Regions from separate parts of the Homo sapiens genome. Here all the other regions are linked to region 5. The links are contacts of gene promoters, found by promoter capture Hi-C in blood cells and fetal thymus (Javierre and others, 2016). All regions are on one chromosome and are shown on one strand. Each heading gives the region's core, a stretch centred on a gene start or on the middle of the fragment in contact. The rest is flanking DNA. Distances are from core to core; before and after follow the strand shown. Region 1 overlaps TBXT (T-box transcription factor T). Region 2 has its middle 12 kb from the start of LNCDAT. Region 3 has its middle 38 kb from the start of LNCDAT. Region 4 overlaps RPS6KA2 (ribosomal protein S6 kinase A2). Region 5 holds the start of MPC1 (mitochondrial pyruvate carrier 1).

Region 1 (4,395 bases), core at 973-3,472, 220 kb before region 5:
TGGCGACACAGGTGTCCATGAGGCTATGAGGCGGCCTTGGGCTGCGGCGTCGTACTGGCTGTCCACGATGTCTGTGGCCGCGGCCGCCCCTTCGTACAGTGGGGATCCCGAGGAAGAGGGCGCCGAGACCGGATGGGTGAGGGGTGTGTAGTGCGCGGGGGAGCCCCGGAAGAACTGGGCCCCCAGCCCGTTGGACACGGCTGCTGCCTGGGAGCCCGGGGTGACGGCGCCGTTGCTCACAGACCACAGGCTGGGGTACTGACTGCAACAGAAAGACACCAGTGAGCAGGGCCTGGGCAGGGGCTGCAGGCCAGCTAAGGATGGAAAAACACACCAGAAATCCCATTCGGAGTGACTGTGTAATATGACAGTTTTCTTCTTTCAAACAGGTCATTTTCTCCAAATTATTAAAGGACTCACAAGCACATTCTGTGATGTATAGAAGTTATTGTCGTATCTATTAATAAGAAACAAAATCATCAGGAAGATGACTGAAAAGATTATTCACATATTCAGAGCTCATGAAAGAGCGCTGTTAAGTTTCACTGCGAAAGACTCATACCAGGCCAGCCGCAGTGGGTGATGCCTGTAATCCCAGTACTTTGGGAGGCCAAGGCAGGTGGATCAGCTGATGTCAGGAGTTCAAGGCCAGCCTGACTAACATGGTGAAACCCCGTCTCTACTAAATACAAAAAATTGGCTGGGCATGGTGGCACATGCCTGTAATCCCAGCTACTTGGGAGGCTGAGGCAGGAGAATCGCTTGAACCCGGGAGGCAGATGTTGCAGTGAGCTGGGATTGCACCATTGCACTCCAGTCTGGGCAACAAGAGTGAAACTCCGTCAAACAAACACACAAAACAGAAAAGAAAGACTCAGACCAGTAGTTTTGCACTCTCATTCAGAATAAAACTTTTCAGATAGTCTCAACCAAAAGTTACTGAGGATGGGCTTAAGTACACATGTTTTTATCTAGGACACCCCACCCCCACCACCGCAGTGATTCTCACGATGAAGACCAGCCTCTCCTCAAACACTAAGCAGCAGACATTCCTTAGAGTAACTCCAGTACAGACACAATTCCCTGCACTTTGTCCTGTTCAGTACATAGGTGTGCTAGCATGGTGCCCAGCAGCAAGAAAAGCACCTGGCAGTCAGACTAGGAAGCCATTCCCAGTTCCGCCTTTACCTAGCTGTGTCACATTACACTTTGCCTGAGACTACTTATAGGCTGTGTTTCTCAAGGCATAAAATGAGGAAGGTGGAAATGACTATTGAATTCTCCAGTCTAAGCACATGGAAGTGGATAGCATTCAATTATGGTAAGATTTTATTTTGGGAAATAACCTTGTCTTTCTACAAGTGAATAATGAGACCTTATGTTGTATCACCATACTGTTTTAAACAAGTCTGAGTTAATCAAGGCAGATTTTTATGCCATTTTACAAATGAAAGCTTCAGGTTCTAAGATGCCCAATTAGAGCCACACTGAGACCCTCGGGTGGGGCCTCTGTCAACAGCTTGCAGTGTGCGGGTCATCTGATCGGGTGCAGGCTTCTGGGGCGATGCTCTTGGAGCCCCTGAAAGCTTCGCTTGTTTACGCATTGTTGCTCTGTTTCTAACCGCGGGCAATTGAATTCTTATTATGAAGGAACTGTTTTCTAGACAAGAATTAAGATCGCAGGCATATTTTGGTATTCTAGAAAATGAAGTGCATTGCCTTTGAGGTCAAGATCACTTAATTCCAGGCTCACTCTGCTGTGAGCTGGTCCAATCATTTAATATCTCTGGCCCTCCTTCCTCCCTAGAAAGTGAGGGTTGACTTCTAGCTTTGGTATTTTAGGTTTTTATATTCATCCTATGAAGAAATGTAAGACATTTACCAGCCTGCTTAATTTGTAAGCCTTTTTCCCTCTGCATAACTTGCAAGTTGGTAACAAAATAGTCATCATTGTTTACCAGTTACCTAGCACATATATTAAAGACTTCGAGCCTGTATCCATAGAAAAGCCAATAAACTCATTTCCTTCATTTACTAGCTTTTGTTGGAAAAGGTTCCGAAACGATCTCTTTAAGCTCTACCTACTGACCCCAACAACCCTGTAGGAGACAGGCCGAGGCTGGGTTATTTTTTTACCACCTTCCTTTTATATGTGAGGAAACTGAGGCCCAGAGAGGCTAAAAGACTTGTCCATCACGTGAACCAGTAAGTGGCAGAACCAGGATGGGGACCCTGGTTTCATTCAGGGATGGGATAGCGCAGCTCCCATTCCACACCTGGGTTGTAAAGGAGCCCAGTCCTTCCAGCGAACAGACTGCAAACAGGAACTCGGCAGTCATGTCACCTGCAATCCCTGGGCATAGCTGGCTAATAAAGAATTCTAAATAAAGACCCAACCACCCACAGGGACCAAGGAGAATAAGGACTAAGGGCCTATGGGAATGGAAACAGCGTGAAGTCACAGGCAGAGCTCCCAGGATGCTTTGCACCAGGTCCTGGACATACATTACCTGGAGCTGGTAGGTGGGCTGGCATTGTGGCTCACGGGGAGCATGCTGGGATGGGCAGGCATTCCAAGGCTGGACCAATTGTCATGGGATTGCAGCATGGATAAACATGCAGGTGAGTTGTCAGAATAGGCTAAGGGGGGAAGGTAACAAAGTGCAATTATAGATGGTGTCTTCCAAGAACAACAAAGTACAGTGAAATACCACCAATAACTGAAGCTACGTAACACTGAAAACAAAATGTACATGGGATATTAACTGTAGAAAACAATCCATTAGTCTATTTACATGGTTATCAGGGGCAAGATTTATTGCCAAATATATGTATTTGAAAACATACCCTGGTAAACCCAAGCTTTTTCCCTTATCATCATTATCAGTAGATGCCCTGTAGACATTGAATCTTACTTACAATCACTGACTTGGAATTACTTATCTTTAAAAATAAATATAACTTTACCCTGCCTTTTTACCAGTGATTACTTCATAAGAATGGGCGATAGAAACCATTACTCCAGGCAAAATTAGAAATAAGATCTTCCTGCCTCAGAGTCTAGCCTCTGGTTGAACAAGTCCCAGTGACTTCCTAACCCAATAAGGTCCTTTCATTTCAAATCAGCTTTAATTGCTTAATTGTTTTATGGTATTCTTTAGCTATTTTCCTTCTTTTGGAGCCAGACAAAATTAAGTCTAGACATATACAGTGTTATAGAGAGAATTAGGCCAGGGGATCTTTATGGTCTATCCCAGTGTTCCTAATATTGGAGCATGCATCGGAATGGCCTGGAAGGCTTTTAAAAGCACACTGGCCAGGCGTGGTGGCTCACGCCTGTAATCCCAGCACTTTGGGAGGCCGAGGCGGGTGGATCACGAGGTCAGAAGATCGAGACCATCCTGGCTAACACGGTGAAACCCCGTCTCTACTAAAAATACAAAAAAATTAGCCAGGCCTGGTGGCAGGCACCTGTAGTCCCAGCTCCTTGGGAGGCTGAGGCAGGAGAATGGCGTGAACCCGAGAGGCGGAGCTTGCAGTGAGCCGAGATCGTGCGACTGCACTCCAGCCTGGGCGACAGAGCGAGACTCCGTCTCAAAAAAAAGCACACATTGCCGGGCCCCACCAAGAGCTGCTGCCTGTCAGTCTGGGGTGGGGCCTGAGACTGTGCCCACTCTCGGGTGGTGCTGAGGCTCTGGCCTGGGCACCGTATTTGGAGAATCACTGGTGTAGTCAGGAATTCTTGAGCCTGGCTGCCCATCATTGTCACTTTAGAGAGGTTCATAGAAGACTCAAACCTGGGCTCTCCTCCTAAGGATCGACCATGGTTCTGTGGAGAGGCCCAGGAATCTGTCATTTTCAAAACCTGGAGCAGCAGCTCTGAGGCCTGTGCAAGGATGCAAGCCTCTGATCTGGGTGTCCGTGGTTGTTCCGCCAGCAGCGGCAGTGGCGGAGACATAAATTGAAGATCTTCTCTTGAGCTACTAAAAAACTGGGCTTGGGTATGTGTTCCAGAAAACCGTCTCCATTTTTTTAGATTCTAGACTCCTGCAGAATGCCTTTCCCAAAGTGGTCTTGCAGCCACCCACCAACCCCTGGCAGAATGAGGCTGAGGACTCACTTGGAGAATTGTTCCGATGAGCATAGGGGCTGGGGTAGGGTGAGGACCGGTGGCTCCTCAGGGTTGGGTACCTGTCACAGCTGTGCGTGGAGGGGAGGGAGAGGGCACCTCCAAACTGAGGATGAGGATTTGCAGGTGGACACAGGGTGCTGGTTCCAGGAAGAAGCCACCCCCCTGCTGTGAGAAAAGACAGTGCTGAGTAACCTGCATTAGTGCTCCCTCCATCTCTCCAGAGAGCAGAGCCCAGGCCAGGGACTGTCCCTCCATCACTCCAG
Region 2 (4,131 bases), core at 413-2,912, 200 kb before region 5:
CATAAACCTGGGAGCCAGAATTTCTTCCTGTGGGAATCTAGAGCCTTCACTGGTCATCACCAGGTAATAGCACTGGAGATAAACCAGCGGGATGTAACTCAGATCCTCAAGGAAGGCAGAGTAGGAGGAGGGAAAGCTGGAAGGCCTGGGTTCCAAGCGCGTTAAGAAAATTATCCCAGTCATCAAGGACTTTCACAACCTTCTCATGCGGTGGTCTGATGGCTTGCTTAGAGATGAGGAAACCAAGGCACTGGCCGCTTCACTTCTTCCCATGTTGCCAGGGAATGAAATGTAACCCACAGCCTGTCTGGCCAGCTGGAAACTTGGGGCCTGCTCTTTTCTCCCCTGGATCTGTTGAGAAGAGACCAGAACCTTATCTAAAAGGGGCAGGTTTTAAAGTTGAAGTGTGTGGCTCAAATATCTTTAAAATTTTATTTGCTTACAAAGAAAATATGTTTTTGTGCACAGCATTTTGTAATAAACCCAATACAGCCAAGCTTTCCTCTAGCTTTTACATTGCACTGGATGAAGTTGCTGACTTGCATTTTGGTACAAAGTTTAGATATTTTTGTTCTGTTTTTGGCTAAACATTTATAGTTGAATTCACCTGAGTTATTTATAGTTGAATTCACCTGAGTTGAACTCACCTGAGTTGAATTCATGTGAGCTCTATGGCTATGAGCTCTATGGCCCTTATTACTGTAATAAGCCATCATTTTTGAACAATAGCCTCACATTTTCTTGGTGGAGAGTACTCAAATTTAGAGATTAGATTGAAATTAACAGTGGTCTGAATTAATAGATATTTACCAGTTATTAACAGTTAACAATTATTAGAGGCATCTTGTCTTTTTGGAAATCCTTTGTTCCCCCTTTCTTAACCAAAATGACTTTTGCCCCAGTCTGTTGATTCTAACTAGACAGTCAAGAGGGTCTTGCCACCCAAGTCTTGATCTGAGATCAACATTGTGTAGGGAAGCCAAAGTCCTAGTAAAATTAAATTAGTCTTTAATTAACTGACTACTTATTAGTGCCTATTCATCCAGACTCCCTTACCCAAAACTAATTTCCATCCTCCCCCATCCCACCCATGGCACCTCTTCCCACACTGTGTGAGGGCATCATTTTGTGGGTCCCCCCTCAACTGATTGTCATACATGTAACATATTAGACATGCTATTTGAAAATTAAAAACATATTTCTATGCTATTAAAGGAGTTTGTTTAAGAAATAAGGCAAAAGAGTAACTGGCCTCACCATTCTCTTCCCATGCTAGAAGGGAGCGCACATGGTACTGTGACTGAGGACGCGGTTACTGAAAGCGGGGCTGTGACAGGCTCCTGGGAAGTGAACTTTGATGCAAAGGTAGCCTTGCAGTTCACCCCCAGGAAAGCTGTCACAGAGGTCACAAAACAGAATAGCTCACCAGCCAAATTAAGATCCTCAAATCACAAAGTTTAATGTATCCATTTAAACCACATAGTGAGCAGCAAAGGAACACAGGCGGGGCCGGTCCGCACACCTATGTGGAAGGTCCTCACTTCCTCATTTCTGCACCATCCGCACTTTCTGGCTCTCTGCTGCACGGGCCTTCCCTGCCAACGGCATGGGCATGTAGACCAGACCAGGGGTGATGGTTAGAGAATAGTGTCATGAACACATGGACAATATTGCTCTACCTGTCTCCCCACCCTAATCACCCCCACCCCCAGATGATTTTAGAAGGATTACTGGACATCTTTCCATCCATAAAGGAAGTACTGCAGTATGTATCCCTAAAACCTAGGATTATTTTTGGTTAAACATAACCATAATATCATTATCACACCTAAAATTAATAAACAAGACCTCCTTAATGTCATCAAAAACTAGCCAGTGTCCAAATTTTCCTATTTGTCTCATAGATTCATGAGAAAATTGTTATATCTTTTGATGTCCATGTGCAAAAGTTCCTGTAGGTGAATATAAGCCTAGAAGGGAAATTTCTAGGTAGTGTCTGTCTTCAGTATTTTTAGAATATGCTGAATTGTTTTCCAAAGAGGTTGCACTAATTTTATATTCCAGTAACATTGAGGAAGGGTTCCCCTGGCTTTGCATCCTAGCCAATACTCGATACTGTCAGATTTTAAGAGGTTTTCCAGTGTGAGGCGTATAAAAAAAGGATGTCATGGTTTTAAATCACATTTTTCCAATTTTCCCACAAAATCTTTTTGAGTATGCCATGGAATATTTTTTAAAAAACAATTACAGGAGTTTTTCTACAATGCCAGTACTCATCATTTGTCAGCTTTATAAGTAGAAAAACATTCTCCTACTTTGTGACTGGCCTTTTCACTTCCTTATTGATGTCCTTTGTGACCGGAGATTCCCAACATAATATAATCACATATATCACACCTTTCCTTTGCATTTTATGCCCTTTGTGACTTTATCTGAAAGAGCCATTTCCATCCCCAGGACAGTCTTCCATATTCTTTACATTGTATAGTTCTACATTTTTACATTTCAGACTCTAGTCCACCTAGCATTGACTTCCGTGCCTAAGATGAGATAGAGATCCAACTTCAGTGGAGAAAACTGGTCGACTCTGCATCATTGATTGAATCATCAATTGCTTCACCAAAGATCAGCAATAAATCTGACATAAATCATTTCTGCATCTGATTCTGGGCTATCTGATTCTGGGCTTCCTATTCTAATTCATTGATACTTTTATCTGTCCCATTTTGAGTGCTATGTAGCTTTAAATTAGGGCTTGATATCATATAGGACAAGCTCCCACCACTTACTATCATGTCTTATCTATTACAGATCTTTGCTCTTCTATATAAGCTTAAGAATTCGCTTGTCAAGTTCCAAGAAAAATTATTAAAATGGCATTAAATCTCAAGATCAGACTGGAGAACTGACACCTTTTCAACGTACAGGATTTCTGCCCATGAAGGCAGCACCTCTGCTTATTTAGGTCTTTTTTAAAATGTCTCTTAATAATGCTTAATAACTTTCTCCATGAAGGGCTTGCAAATATTTTTCCAAATTTATTCCTAGATAATTAATTTTTATTGCTACCATAAATGGAAACTTTTTCTTCCCCCTCAAGGAGCCTTGCTCTGTTGCCAGGCTGGACTGCAATGGTGGGGTCTTGGCTCACTGCAACCTCTGCCTCCTAGGTTCAAGCGATTCTCCTGCCTCAGCCAACCAAGTAGCTGGGATTACAGGCTCCTGCCACCATATCTGACTAATTTTTTGTATTTTTAGTAGAGACAGGGTTTCACCATGTTGACCAGGCTGGTCTCAAACTCCTGACCTTAAGTGATCCACCCGCCTCAGCCTCCCAAATTGGGATTACAGGCGTGAGCCACCGCACCCGGCCAAATGGCAACTTTTTTCTTTTTTTGAGATGGAATCTCACTCTGTCGCCTAGGCTGGAGTGCAGTGGCGCAGTCTCAGCTCACTGCAACCTCCGCTTCCCGGGTTCAAGCGATTTTCTTGCCTCAGCCTCCTGAGTAGCTGGGATTACAGGCACCCACCACCACGCCCAGCTAATTTTTTTGGTATTTTTAGTAGAGACGGGGTTTCACTGTGTTGGTCAGGCTGGTCTCGAACTCCTGACCTCGTGATCCACCTGCCTCGGCCTCCCGAAGTGCTGGGATTATAGGCATGAGCCACCGCACCCAGCCAAATGGCAACTTTTTAAGTGAAAGCTTTTTATTTTATTTTCCCTCCAAAAAATATTTATTTATTTGTATTATTTTTAAAGACTTTTATTTTAGTTTCACGGGTACATGTGCAGTTTTATTATATAACTTAACTTATGTCATGGGGGCTGGGCTGGGCGCAGTGGCTCACGCTTATAATCCCAACCCCCCTTGGGAGGCTGAAGCTGGTGGGTCGCCTGAGGTCAGGAGTTCAAAACCAGCCTGGCCAACATGGTGAAACCCCATCTATACTAAAAATACAAAAAATTAGCTGGACTTGATGGTGGGCGCCTATAATCCCAGCTACTTGGGAGGCCGAGGCAGGAGAATCGCTTGAATCTGGGAGGCAGAGGTTGCAGTGAGCTGAGATCGCACCATTGCACTCCAGCCTGGGCAACAAGAGCGAAACTCCGTTTCAAATAAATAAATAAAT
Region 3 (4,339 bases), core at 1,245-3,744, 180 kb before region 5:
TGAGGTTTTGCACAGGGTCTCCCTGGCCTGGGCCACTCTTCCATCTGATGTTACCACAGTTGGTTACTCTGACCTGTCTTTAATGCCCCTTTCACAAATCTAAACCATCCAGGGACAACAGATAAGGAAAATGGAGTGGAAGCCTCACCACAGATGATGGTGCAGTGCTGAGAAGCATCGGATTCGAGACAGACATAGAGACCTGGAGGCACTGAATGGAAAAAAGGAACAGAGGAGACAAGAACATGCAGACAGAACAACATGGGCTTTGCACAGGTACACGACAAACACAAAATGCACAGCGGACATGCGGCTGCTGCGGGGCAGGGCTGGTATGGGAACAAGACAGGGTGTGTGTGCGTCAAACAAGGCAGAAAAAAATGCAGCCTCGGGTCGCTAGGCATCGCTTCATCCTGTTAAATTCCCCAAAATAGCATGTATCGCTGTCAAACATGAGCATCAGGACTTTTATCCAAACAGGAAAATTTTCTGTTCTTTTAGTCCCAAGTATATGGAGCACACTTATTAATTAGGACATTATGACGGGCTCTGTGTAAAAATGGGAAGTGAATCTCTCAATATGTGTTTAGTGAAATTAAAGGTACATTGAATCTACTAAAGAAAAAAAACACTTAAGCCTGGGAAATTATCTTTGTGTTTTTTCCTAAGTGATTATTATTAGACACCAGAATAGCACCAAACCGAAAAAAATCTCACGACTGAAATATCTCAGAAACGACATTTCAATATATAAAGGAGACATCAATTTTAAGTTACAAGTAAGGAGAAATTTGGAAACAGAACATACAATTTAACTAAGATTAAGTCTTTCAAAATAATAAGCAGCACTCTAAAACTGAAATCAAGAACGATTTTCATGACTATTTGAATTTTTTTAAATTAATGTTGGTGTTTTTTTTGAGACAGGGTGTCACTGTGTTGCCCATACTGCAGTGAACTGGCAGTGTCATAGCTCACTGCAGCCTCAAGCTCCTGGGCTCAAGTCATCCTTCCACCTCAGTCTCCCAAGTAGCTGGGACTACAGGTATGCACCATGACATCTGGCTAATTTTTTAGTTTTTGTGGAGACGGAATCTCGATATGTGGCCCAGCCTGGCCTCAAGTAATCCTCCTGCCTCAGCCTCGCAAAGTGCTGGGATTACAGGCATGAGCCACGACACCTGGCCTAAATATTTCTCAAAAATAAACCAAGAATGATTTTCAAGGCCTAAGAAAAAGACATGGCACTGATGAGATTTTGAAGACTTTTATTAAAAGTAATAAGCATAGTTCATTCACCCAAAACTGACAGTGGAAAATCTGAATGTTTCAAGTAAGTAGAGGAAATTCCCCCAAATGAAGAGGGGATGACAGAGTCCTGAAGTTAGCTACTGGACACCTTCAGCGGCAGACACTGGAAGATTAGTTACAAGAGGGCTCGACAGGCCTGCAGGTAAAACAAACAAAGCAAAACAAACTGAAACAAGAAAGCACAGCCAGGCTCTCTCTCCCCAGCTCAGCAGGAGCTCCAGCCCCAGCTGCCATCATTCCTAGCACTCCGGTAGCAGCGTTACTATTACTAACACTTACGGTATCTTCAAAATCATCCTCCTGGCAACCAATGTGAAGTCACCACCAGGCCCAGAAAGTGGCTGTGACTCTCCCCTGGTGGCCAACACTGCTAGCTGCTGACCTAACTTCCGTTACCCATCCTCTTCCTCACTACCAGGCCCGTAGGTACTGCTGTGGGGTATAAGGTGCGCAGCTGAAGAAAATGCATTTTTCCAGCCCCCTTGTGAGATGGGGTGGCCATATGACCACGCTCTGGTCAGCAGAATGTCAGTGAAGTTTTTGGGTGGAGATTCCAGAAGCTTCCTGAGAAGAGGGCTGGCGGGATGGGCAGGGATCCCCTCTGTCTCAGGCCCTCTGCCGCAGAGGTAGTATGAGGTCAGGAGCAGGAAGCCCCCACCAGCAACAGGCAAGAGCGAGCAGCACCATGGGGTCCCCAAGCCAGCCAGGGACTCTCAGCGACAGGAGAGAAAGGCAAGCCTCTGCGTTCTCGCAAGAGGCTCTTTTCTGGAGGCGGTTTCAGTTTTGCGGTGCTGAATCCAGTTCTGTAAGGGAAGAAAAAGTTATTTCCTCACCCATTGCTAGGTTTATGGCTGAGACACCTATCATAAAAGACAGATAAACAAGAGAAAAGCAGGCGAATTTATTTCATTGTATGTAATTTTTACATGACACAGGCACCTTTAGATATGAAGACCAAAAGGCACAGGGAGGCCTGTGTATCTTTAGGCTAAGCTTGATGGAGAGCGGACAGTGGTGGAAAAGGGTGAGTACACAGAGCGGGTGTCACCTGATGGCAGTGAACTGCGGGAATATGCAAGGTGCCAGATTTCAGGGTCTTGTGTCCCAAACCCCATTAGTGTCTAACTCAGTGTGGATATAACTGCTGGGACGCTAGCAGCGGTCTCTTTGGAAATTGCCAGAGCGCGCCACCGCGGCTGCTGGGTCACTGGGCTTCTGTGTTATGATGGATGCTGTATTCGTCATCCATCATTTGTGGTGTGTTGTAAAGCATCACAAACTGGGTGCCTTTAAACAACAGAAATTTGTTCCCTTACAGTTCTGGATCCCAGAAGCCTGACATCACGGTATCGGCAGGGCCGTGCTCCCTCCTGGGAAGCTTCCCTCCCCTCTTCCCTCTTCTGGCATTGCTGGTGCGTCAGCCCGGTCTCCACCTCCGTCTTCACACAGCCATGACCCCGTGTGTCTCTCCTCCTCTTCAGATGTTCTTCAGTAAGGACATCAGTCATGTTGGATTAGGACCCACCCTGATGACCTCATCCTAGCTCACATCTCGATGTCATCTGCAAAAATCCTATTTCCAAAGAAGGCCACTTCACAGGCCCCAGGACTTAAGATTTTAATGTATCTTTTGCAACAAACACCTTAGCGAAATTTCTTGCAACACACACCTTGGTTTAATGTTCTTGAACTAATCCACTGGCCTCTGGGACTCAGGCATAGCTCTTTGGGCCTCTCAAACTGGCCTGATGTCCTGGGACCAAATTTGCACTGTGCCTAACCTTGGGCTGAGGATTTTTGCCAGAAAGCTCTGGTCTCTCATACCCCAGGCAGGCCCATCCTTCCAGTCCTCCAGGCAAAGCGAATCTGAACTGTGTTAGTTCTAGGCTGTGCCAAGTCCAGGCTCCCTGAGGTTTCTACACTGCCTTTATATTTATAGATCTTAAAAAAAAAAAAAAAAAAAAAAAGGTACTGTTTCTGGTATGGTTTGGCTGTGTTCCCACCCATATCTCATCTTGAATTGTAGCTCCCATCACTCCCACTTGTTGTGGGAGGGACTTGGTAGGAGATAATTGAATCACAGGGGCAGTTCCCCCATACCGTTCTCATGGCAGTGAGTAAGTCTCACGAGATCTGATGGTTTTCTACGAGGAAAACCCTTTTGCTTGGTCCTCACTCTCTCTTGTCTGCGGCTATGTAAGGCATGCCTTTTGCCTTCCACTATGATTGTGAGGCCTCCCCAGCCATGTGGAACTGTGAGTCCATTAAACCTCTTTTTCTTTATAAATTACCCAGTCTCAGGTATGTCTTCACCAACAGGGTGAAAACAGACTAATACAGTTTCTCCCCGGCTTCCCTGAAGACCCACCAGTGTCAGAGGAAGGCGACTTCACAGCCCAGCACATCTGGGACTCAGCTCACTTCAAGGGTAAAAATCTCTTTGAAGTCACATGTTTTACTCAAAAAATCTCGTTAACTTTCCTTTTACTGCTTAAAGTACTTGTGTTTGCTTTCTCGTTGTAAGAATGGTTTTTTGCGCGTATCTTCAGGTGCAGTCAATGCCCAGGAATTGTGCACTACCTGCTCTTGAAGGGCCCTTTTCTCCTCAGTTCCTGGGGGTGCTTCCCCTGCTTGAGAAGCACAGGTCTTTCCTGTTAGGGGTTAGGGTTAGGGTTAAGCCCTCATGTCCCATCCTGGATTTGATCTCTACCACCCTGTGGAATGACAAGAAATCTATTTCATTTAAAAAAAAAAAAAAAAAGTTAAACAGCTTTCAAAAGTAAAAAAAAAAAAAAATTATTTTTTTTTAATTTCTGAAACAATTTTTAAATTAAAAAATTTTATTTTAAATAAATTGGGTTTTTGTCCCCCATTCCTGGCACGCAGCCCCTAAACGCCTTTCCTGAGTGTCAGGGCTGTCTTTGGTGTTGGCCAGGAGCCCCTTCCCATCACACCTGAGTGCCTGCTAACAAAGTAAGCGAGGCTGGGTCCTGGGACAGCCTCAGGATGGGGTGGGCATGAGAAAGAC
Region 4 (4,229 bases), core at 254-2,753, 140 kb after region 5:
GGGGCTGAGATGGTTGTGGAGGCACCAACAGGTTCACCCCACTGTGAAGGGCACACTGGTTTCCTTCCCAGGAAAACACGGGAGGAAGCACTTTGTGAGATTATCCTGGCAGGCATAGGATATATGATATGCAACTAGAGCTACTTTCTGGAACCCCTCTTCAAGGTGCCTCTTTTCAGGCAGCAATGCAGGCATTGCTTTGTGTTTCTGATTTTTAAATGATCTCCACCAATAGACATTATATGTATATTACATTATGTAGTATATTGTGGTGGTTAGTTTTACATGTCAACTTGACTGGGCTAAGAGATGCCCAGAGAGCTGGTGAACCATGATTTCTGGGTGTGTGTGTGAGGGCGTTTCTGGAAGATATCAACATTTGAATTGGTGGACTGAGTAAAGATCACCCTCCCCTATATGGGCAGGCACCATCCAGCCCACTGAGGGCCAGAATAGAACAAAAAAGCAGTGGGAGAGGAATCTGCTCCCTGTTGAACTGGGACATGCATGTTTTCCAGCCCTCGGACATCAGTGCCTGGTTCTTGGACTGAGACTTAAACCATTGCACTCCTCTCCCCACACCAAGTTCTCAGGACTTCGAATTCAGACTGAAACTTATACCACCAGCTCTCCTGGTTCTCAGGACTTTGAATTTGGACTGGAACTTATACCACCAGCTCTCCTGGTTCTCGGGACTTCGAATTCAGACTGGAACTTATACCACCAGCTCTCCTGGTTCTTGGGACTTTGAATTCGGACTGGAACTTATGCCACCAGCTCTCCTGGTTCTCAGGCCTTTGGATTTGAACTGAATGACACCCCAGCCTTCCTGGTTCTCCAGCTTGCAGACAGAAGCTCCTGGAGCTTCTCAGCCTTCATACCCATGTGAGCTGATTCCTGTAACAAATCTCCCTCTAAGAAATGTATATCCATCCCGTTGGTTGTGTTACTCTGGAAAATCCTGAATAATACAGAATTTGGTACCCAAAAGTGGGATGCCCCTATAATAAAACCTAAGAATGTAGAAGTAGCTTTGGAAATGGGTAATGGGTAGAGGTTGGAAGAGTTCTGAGATACAGCTAGAAAAGGCCTATCTTGCCATGAACAGACCTTTCAATGTGATTCTGGTGAGGACTCAGAAAGAAAAGGAGAGCTGTAGAGAAGGCCTACATCTTCTTAGGGAATAACTAAGGAATCCTGAATGCTGATAGGAAGTCAGTATGGACCAGCCATCTCCACAGAAGCCGGCAGCGATTCTCCAAGGCAACAGAAACATGACCCTGCAGCCAACTCAGAGAGCATCAGGGCTGCCCACCCATGTCAGGCCAGGCACAAGAGCCCCAGGGTAGAATGATTTAAAAGTAGGGGCCACTGGTGCCTGGGACTGCAAGGGCACTGCCTCACATCATGGGCTGCCCACCCTCCAGCACTGCTGTCCCTGGCTGTCCCGGGTGCAGCTCTGCCTTGGGCAGACCCTGGTGCCCTGTGAGCCCCAGCAGTTGCCTTCTGGAGGGAGCAGGTGGCAAAGGCTGGCAGTGACTGTGTGGTTCTCTTTTCCCCACCATGGGGAGTGCAGGAGCCTTGGGGGTGTGGCTGCCCTTACCTAAATTTCAAAGGCTGGGGTCCAGGCACAGAACCACTGTAGGGCCATCCAACTACACTGGATTGGGTCACCCAAAGCTGTGGGAGGCCACCCAAAGCTGTGGGGCCAGGGACTTGGAGAGCCAACCCCTGCCCTGCAAAGCTCCGGGGCAGAACCGCCAACTCGTTATGTCCAAAAGGCAGGACCCCTGCTCCAGTGGGTCTGGAGGGCACAGCATCTAGTCAAAGAGGATTATTCTGGAGTCTTGAGGTTCCATGTTATTTTCTCTGTTGGGTTTTAGACTTACTTGGGACCTGTTACTCCTTTTCTTTCCTATTTCTCCTTTCGGAAAGAAAATGTCTGTCCTATGCTGGTCCCACCACGGGATTTCTGAGGCACAGAGCTCGTGTGTTTTCATAGGCTCACAGCTGGAGGGTGACTGTGGTCAGGATGAATCATACCTTGGATCTCACTAATACAGAGAGATCGCAGAGATACTGACATTGGGGATCAGAGGAAACCATATGATTTGGATGAGATGTTGGGCTTTAGACTTGAGTTGATGTGGGAATGAAGCGGAGGCTATGGAGATGGGATGAATGTGGGAAAGATATGAATTTTAGGGACTGGGGTGGAACGCCATAGACTGTGTATGTTCCCCCCACTAAATTCATATGTTGAAACCTAACCCCCAGTGTGATGGTTTTAGGTGGGGCCTCCGGGAGGTGATTAGGTCAGAAGGGTGGAGCCCTCATGCATGAGATTAGTGCCCTTAGAAATGAGACCCCAGAGAGCTCATTCATGCCTTCCATCAAGTGAGGACACAGCCAGAAGATGGCTATGAACCAGACAGCAGCCCTCCCCAGGCACAAAATCTGACACAGCCTGGATCTTGGACTTGTGGCAGAACTGTGAGAAAAAAATTTCTGTTGTTTAGAAGCCACACAATCTATGATGTTCTGTGATATCTGCCTGAATGAACTAAGACACGTATCGTATCATATTATAGCATACTGTTCTGTTCTGTTCTATCTAGGTGATAATACAAAAGAAAATTAAGGTTAAGATAAAATTAAATTAAATGCAATTCTGTCAGCTGCTGTGAAGATGAGCAATGGCTGTGTAAATGCACCTAAGGAAACCACTGTGTTGGGGACGTAGTGGATGCCGCACTGACCGTGCAGTGCCAATAGCTCTGCTGCCACAAACCCACGGGACCTTGGCTTCTGCACACACCTCTGTGGGGGGCTGAGCATACGCAGACGGCCTTGGTGACCTGAAGGCCTGGCAGTCAGAGGCTCGATGATGCTTTGTGGTTGATGCAGCGCAACTGGAGGGATTTTGAAGACTGAGCCGACAGACACACTTTCGCCTGAGACTTACCAGCACTGGAGAGTGCGGGCTGTGCTAGCTCGGTCTCCCCCACTGCGCGGCCATTGCCTGAGACTTCCTTTCTTTACCCCCATAAAGGCTATTGAGCCTGAAATTATATCCCGAGCAGTCTCCCAGATGCAGAATAAAAGTCCTTCTTCCCACAGTATCTTTTAGCTTTCAAAGGTTTAATTCATAGTAAAAAACGGACTTCCACGAGCCATCGTGTGGCTAAACTTTTGGGGGCAAACTTTTTACAGTGAATTACTCCACACATAAAGGAAGAGAAGAAAACCATAAATAATAAGAAGCAAAGTTAACCACACTGATTACCAGAATGGGCATGACTCCCCAACAGGTGTCTTTTTATTCTTCTATACTCAAGTATTTTTTAAAAGACTGATATGGTTACTTAACTGACTTCCTTAATAGAGAATCTTTGTCAGAAAAATCTTAAGCCCATTACTCTTAACTACTTACACTGCAGAGGTATTAAAGATGACAAGTAATGAAAAAAATCTATTTCCTCCTTTTTGAATATCTGTAATTCAAGAAATGCAACTCTGGTAATAAACACATAGAGGACTCCACCATACAGAGGCGGGTGTATCTGTAATAAATCAGATGCCTGTTAGGTAAGGGTGATGTTTATCTGAAATGCAAGAGACAGAGTGAGATCGTACCTTACAAAGGGCTTGAGAAAGACAGAAGTCAAAGATGGCTTAAGGAGGAGACATTTTCATTTTGTTTGTCATCTTATGCAATTAAATGGGAAATGAATCCCTTGAAGAGTAAACACCTTAAGTACCATGAGCAGGGATGTAGCTTCTTGCTGAAGAAATGCAGGGAGTCTGTCATCTGGTGAGGATGCAGCTGGCCCAGGGAGGCCTGGGGACCCCAGGAGTTATCTTGGGATAAGCATAGGATTCTGACCTTCACCACCTCCAAACAATACGCTTTTGAGTAACTTTGCTGCCTTGTGCCTTAGTTTCATCATTCGTAAATAAAGATGATGATTTATAAAAATATAATAATAATAATAACAGTCCTCCCCTCTTAAGAGAGGGCAAAATTGTGCTTAGAATTTTCCTTACTTTTTTCTCCCCTGGGAATCTGAAATCATCCAAATGGGAATCAAATGACATAAATGAATTAGCATATTATGGAAATACAATCTGTTCAAGCTACCAGATTGATCGGAGCTGAGTTTCTGAGTGACTCAGTGCCTTCTAACGAAGCATCTCAGCATAAGAGAGGAAAACAAATAAAGAGGTGC
Region 5 (4,674 bases), core at 1,203-3,702:
ATAAAGTTAATTTTAGAAAAAAAGGTTAGATGATATACTGAAGTATCCTATTGAAAAGCCTGGCTCTTGGAAACCCATTTAGTAGAAGAAAATATAACACTTAGAAAAGCAGAACTCTCTTCCTTGAAAATATATTTAACAAATTCTTCCTATGTAATGAAACTGTTAGGGCCGGGCATGGTGGCTCACACCTGCTAACCCCAGCACTTTGGGAGGCCGAGGTGGGCGGATCACCTGAAGTCGGGAGTTCGAGACCAGCCTGACCAACATGGAGAAACCCCGTCTCTATTAAAAATACAAAATTAGCCTGGCGTGGTGGTGCATGCTTGTAATCCCAGCTACTTGGGAAGCTAAGGTAGGAAAATCACTTGAACCCAGGAGGCGGAGGTTTGGATGAGCCAAAATAGTGCCAGTGCACTCCAGCCTGGGCAACAAGAGACAAACTCTGTCTCAAAAAAAAAAAAAAAAAAAAAAAAAGAAAAGAAAACGGTTAAGTAATTATCAGCATAATTTTTATATAGCTAGGTGTCATAACTGTATTTTTAATTTTACCACACAATGTTATCCTTAGCTGTACCTATTAGGAAGGCTCAGTATCCAACACATTAGTAAAAAGCTAAAGTAATATTCAAAGCTGTAGAGAAACTTAACAGCAAGGATTGAGAGCATACCCTCAGACTGCTACCTTGTTCACATTTTTACTACCATTAATCTGATACATTGCTGTGCTCCACAGTGCTAAACACCCATCTTAATTAATAGTAGTTCTATTTAAGCATAGAAATGTCTTTTTTTGAAAGTCAGAAGTGAAGCTTCTGTTTACAAGTTTACCATATGGCAGACTGAATTATTTTTCCTACCCTACTGCTCTATAAAAGTAGAAGTAAACAGTATTTGCAATAAAATTCAGGATTTAAAACTTTTTTATTGCTAAAATCAAGTTGCCTTCATACTATCCCTTTTGTGTGGTTATAACAGGATTTATTCCTCCTCAGCTTTCATCTCTTTACCTCTTGACCACACTATTAACTACCGAAAAAAAACCGCAGCTGTACACGTACCTAGGTTTTAAAATCATACACTGAAAAACTAACTAAAATTACACTCCTAAATAACCTAAAACTGCTTCAAAGTTATATTCAATATTTTGAAATAAAAGCAAGCGCCCCAAGATGAGAGGTGCAAATAAATTATAGAAAGTGTATTTTCAGGCTTTCCAACCGCGAATGCTCTTTGTTTCTAACTGGAAAGGAGGAGTTAACAGAAAATAGAACAAGAAGAAAAAGTATGACCTTAGAGACACGTCACTTTACTTTGGTTGACAGAATTTCGTATATAAAAACATCTTAAATTGTACTTCCTCCCAAGCTTAAAGTCCTTAGAATGAGAAAACCGAAAGGCGAACCCAAGGCCAGCACATTTTATTTCCGCTGTCCCAGAAGCGCGCTGGGCGCACCCGAAGCTCCGCTCCAACAGCGCCGCGCCGCGCTCTCAGCAGCGCCTCCCGCTGGCGTCTCCCCACCCCACACCCAGGTCGCCGCCTCTGGCACACCTGGACGGCCGCAGGTGACCGGCGACCCACTCCGAGGATCTGGTAGAAACCGGCCAGGAAACCACTCCCGCCCGGAGGAGCGAGCCACTGTCAACTGGCCCGGAGGGACGTGCCCACTGCCAACCATGGGAGAGGAACGAGCCTCTGTCACCCCTGCCGGGTCACCCTGCCCTGAGGGGCGCCCACTGTCACCCCTGCCGGGAGAGGCGTCCCCATGGTCACCCTGTCCTGAGGAGCGCCGTCGCTTTCGTCCCTCCAGGTCCCCACTGCCACTCTGGCCGGGAAGGGCGTCCACTGTTATGCCTACCAGGAGAGGCGTCCCCAGTGTCACCTTGGCCAGGAGGGACGCCCACCGTCACCCACTCCCTGAAGGGGACTCAATGTCACCCCTGCCTTGAGGGGCGCCCACTGTCACCCTGCCGGGAGAGGACACCCACTGTCACCCCCGCCCTGAGGAGCGCCCACTGTCACCCTGCCGGGAGAGGACACCCACTGTCACCCCCGCCCTGAGGGGCGCCCACTGTCACCCCCGCCCTGAAAGGCGCCCACTGTCACCGGCTCTCTACGCCGTCCGCTTCGGGGTGTGGCGGTCCGGGAGGGATCCGGGTGGGGCCCCCCTGACAAGCGCACCCTCTCGCCTGGGCCCCGGCCCACCCGCTGCCCGGGGCCACCGCGTCCTCGCGGCCGCCCTCGTCGCGGACTGCACGGGTCGCAGCCTCCCGGGAGCCCCTCCGGGTTGCGGGGTTCGGCCTGCGGCGCTCGTCACCTCATGAGGTAGTCCCGGAAATCCTTGCTTCGGACATAGTCCGCCGCTTTCCGCACCAACGCGCCCGCCATGGCTGTGCCGACACCAGACCCCGAGTGGTCCCTGCCTCTGCTGCCGCTTCCCAGAGCCAATGACACCCCGGCCAACCCCCCGGCAGCCGACGGCGAGCCAGCCCGAAGGCCCGCCTCACGACACCCGGCCACGCCTTACGGCCGCGCCGCGCCGCCCGGCTCTCGGCCAATGACAGGGCGCAGGGCCAGAGATGGTGGCGCGGACTGGCTGGCTCGTGCCGCACGCCTCCTTCCCGCCCTCGGTGGCGCACGGGGGCGGGGCCCGCTGCCGTAAAACGGCTGGGGCTGGGCCGGGGCTGGCAGGCGGTTGCTAGGCTCCAGCGGCTCCCGGCCAGCGGGGACGTGGAGGTGACATTTCTCTGACCCACAGGACTGTGGGCGCCCTGCCGAGCGTCGCGCGGTCTTGGGGCGACCTGCAGTGGGGCCCCTGCGGCGCAGCGCGCGGTGGGACTGGCCGGGTTCCCGCGCCGCCCAGGGCCTGTGTCTGCGCCGGTTCCTGGCAAGGGCACCTTGGCCGGGCGGCCCGCGTCCCCTGCGCTTCCCACACCCACGTGGGCGGACCCGGCCCGCAAGCTGGGCCAGCCTGCGGTTTCCGGGCACTGGGGAGTGCGCAGAGCCCCGGGCCAGCGACCGCAGCCGGGGCCCCTGGCTTCTCCCGAGCACTTTCCCCCGGACCGGTCCCTCCAGGGTGGCGGGCGGCACCCAGGGCCGGCGCTCCTCACCAACGCGCTGCAGCTACGGGCTCAGGAGGGAGCCGCAGCGTCGGAGGAGGAAAGCATTTAAGAATAGCACAAAGCCTTAGGCTCGAGGAAGCGTGACTGCTTACGTGTTGAAAATAAAGGTTCTGTAAGTCCCACCGCGGGTGCATATTGAAAAGAAAGGGATCATTAGCACGCGACCCTCGCCTAGGAGTATATAAACCGCAGCACGACTTTCGGATCACAAAGGCAGAGAAAAGAACACATTGAAGGCTTTTGCTCACTTTTCCAAGTTGTTTCGTTTCGTTTTGTTTCTAATGTGGACGATCATTTAAAATGCCTCTGGTGGCCGGGCGCGGTGACTGACGCCTGTAATCACAGCACTTTGGGAGGCCGAGGCGGGCGGATCACCTGAGGTCAGGAATTCGAGACCAGCCTGGGCAATACGGTTAAACCCCCTCTCTACTAAAAATAAAAAAATTAGCTGGGCGTGGTGGCATGTGCTTGTAGTCCCAGCTACTTGGGAGGCTGAGACAGAAGAATCGCTTGAACCCGGGAGGCGGAAGTTGCAATGAGCCAAGATTGCGCCATTGCATTCCAGCCTGGGCAACAGAGCAAGACCCTGTCTCCAAAAAAAACAAATAAATATAACAAAATTCCTCTGGTAGCCGGGTGCGGTGGCTCACGCCTGTAATCTCAGCACTTTGGGAGGCTGAGGCAGGTGGATCACTTGAAGTCAAGAGTTTGAGACCAGCCTGGCCAATATAGTGAAACCTCATCTCTACTGAAAATACAAAAATTAGCCAGGCGTGGTGATGCGCTCCTGTGATCCCAGCTACTCGGGAGGCTGAGGCGTGAGAATCGGTTGAACCCGGGAGGTGGAGGTTGTAGTGATCCGAGATTGTGCCATTGCACTCCAGCCTGGGCAACAGAGGGAGATCCTGTCTCTAAAATAAAAAATAAAAGAAATGCCTTTGGTGAACAGGAATTCTCAACATTAGTGACCCGCAGTGTATTAGTGTTAATAATGGACATCCCCTTTGATCCAGCAAGCCCATCTAGAGATTTCCTAGGATAGACAAGCCAGTTTGTGCAATTTCATGTGTACAGCATTGTTTTTAGTATGGAAAGATTAGAGTTTACATATCTACCCATAGGGAGAGAGTTAAATAAATTATGGTGCATCCGTTTAGTGGATTAGTATACAGCCATTAGGAATAAAGGAATTCTTTATGTGCTGATATGAAATATCTTTTTTATTTTCAAGAAAAAAACCCAGGTTCTGAATAGTGTATAAAGTATGCTACTCATTGTGCATAGGGACAAAGAAAATATATACATTCATGTTTGCAAAGATACTGGAGAAATGTTAGTAGTGGCTGCCTCTAAGGATGACCAAGAGTGACACTGACTTTTCATTGTATCTTCCTTTGTTCTTTTTGAAATTTGTACAGTCTACTTATGCTATCTATTCAAAATAAGTGGTGTTAAGAAGAAATGCCTTTGAGAATGAAAATGGTAAGCCCTTGATTGAGTGGGGTTCATTTTCTGTTAGGATCGTGGTCTCTATTGGTCACAGCTGACCTT

What was found. The method cuts DNA at HindIII sites, captures the fragments that hold promoters and counts their contacts. A CHiCAGO score of 5 or more calls a contact.
Region 1: a fragment that was not itself captured here is called in contact with the fragment with the promoter of MPC1 in region 5 in 2 of 17 cell types (M0 macrophages and neutrophils); the score reaches 8.4 in M0 macrophages.
Region 2: a fragment that was not itself captured here is called in contact with the fragment with the promoter of MPC1 in region 5 in 1 of 17 cell types (M0 macrophages); the score reaches 5.0 in M0 macrophages.
Region 3: a fragment that was not itself captured here is called in contact with the fragment with the promoter of MPC1 in region 5 in 1 of 17 cell types (neutrophils); the score reaches 5.7 in neutrophils.
Region 4: a contact is called between a fragment that was not itself captured here and the fragment with the promoter of MPC1 in region 5, in 1 of 17 cell types (naive CD8 T cells). The highest score is 5.2, in naive CD8 T cells.

Annotation. Positions count from the first base shown.
Region 1 is chr6:166,158,327-166,162,721 of GRCh38, forward strand. It overlaps TBXT (T-box transcription factor T), which reads right to left. Exons shown (of 8, transcript NM_001366285.2): 6 at 4,121-4,297; 7 at 2,511-2,640; 8 at 1-262. Among named protein-coding and RNA genes, the nearest start is that of TBXT, 7.3 kb to the right of the region's middle. The HindIII fragment of the contact is 1,276 bases long and covers 1,585-2,860 here.
Region 2 is chr6:166,178,349-166,182,479 of GRCh38, forward strand. No RefSeq gene overlaps it. Among named protein-coding and RNA genes, the nearest start is that of LNCDAT, 12 kb to the left of the region's middle. The HindIII fragment of the contact is 2,335 bases long and covers 496-2,830 here.
Region 3 is chr6:166,203,488-166,207,826 of GRCh38, forward strand. No RefSeq gene overlaps it. Among named protein-coding and RNA genes, the nearest start is that of LNCDAT, 38 kb to the left of the region's middle. RefSeq lists an enhancer at 1,906-3,105. The HindIII fragment of the contact is 385 bases long and covers 2,303-2,687 here.
Region 4 is chr6:166,519,596-166,523,824 of GRCh38, forward strand. All of the region lies in intron 3 of RPS6KA2 (ribosomal protein S6 kinase A2), which reads right to left. Among named protein-coding and RNA genes, the nearest start is that of MIR1913, 12 kb to the left of the region's middle. The HindIII fragment of the contact is 8,410 bases long and covers 1-4,229 here.
Region 5 is chr6:166,380,488-166,385,161 of GRCh38, forward strand. It overlaps MPC1 (mitochondrial pyruvate carrier 1), which reads right to left and starts at 2,453. Exons shown (of 5, transcript NM_016098.4): 1 at 2,319-2,453. The coding sequence starts at 2,389. It overlaps MPC1-DT (MPC1 divergent transcript), which reads left to right and starts at 2,691. Exons shown (of 1, transcript NR_189630.1): 1 at 2,691-4,674. RefSeq lists an enhancer at 1,596-1,775 and silencers at 2,136-2,235, 2,386-3,125. The HindIII fragment of the contact is 5,196 bases long and covers 1,367-4,674 here.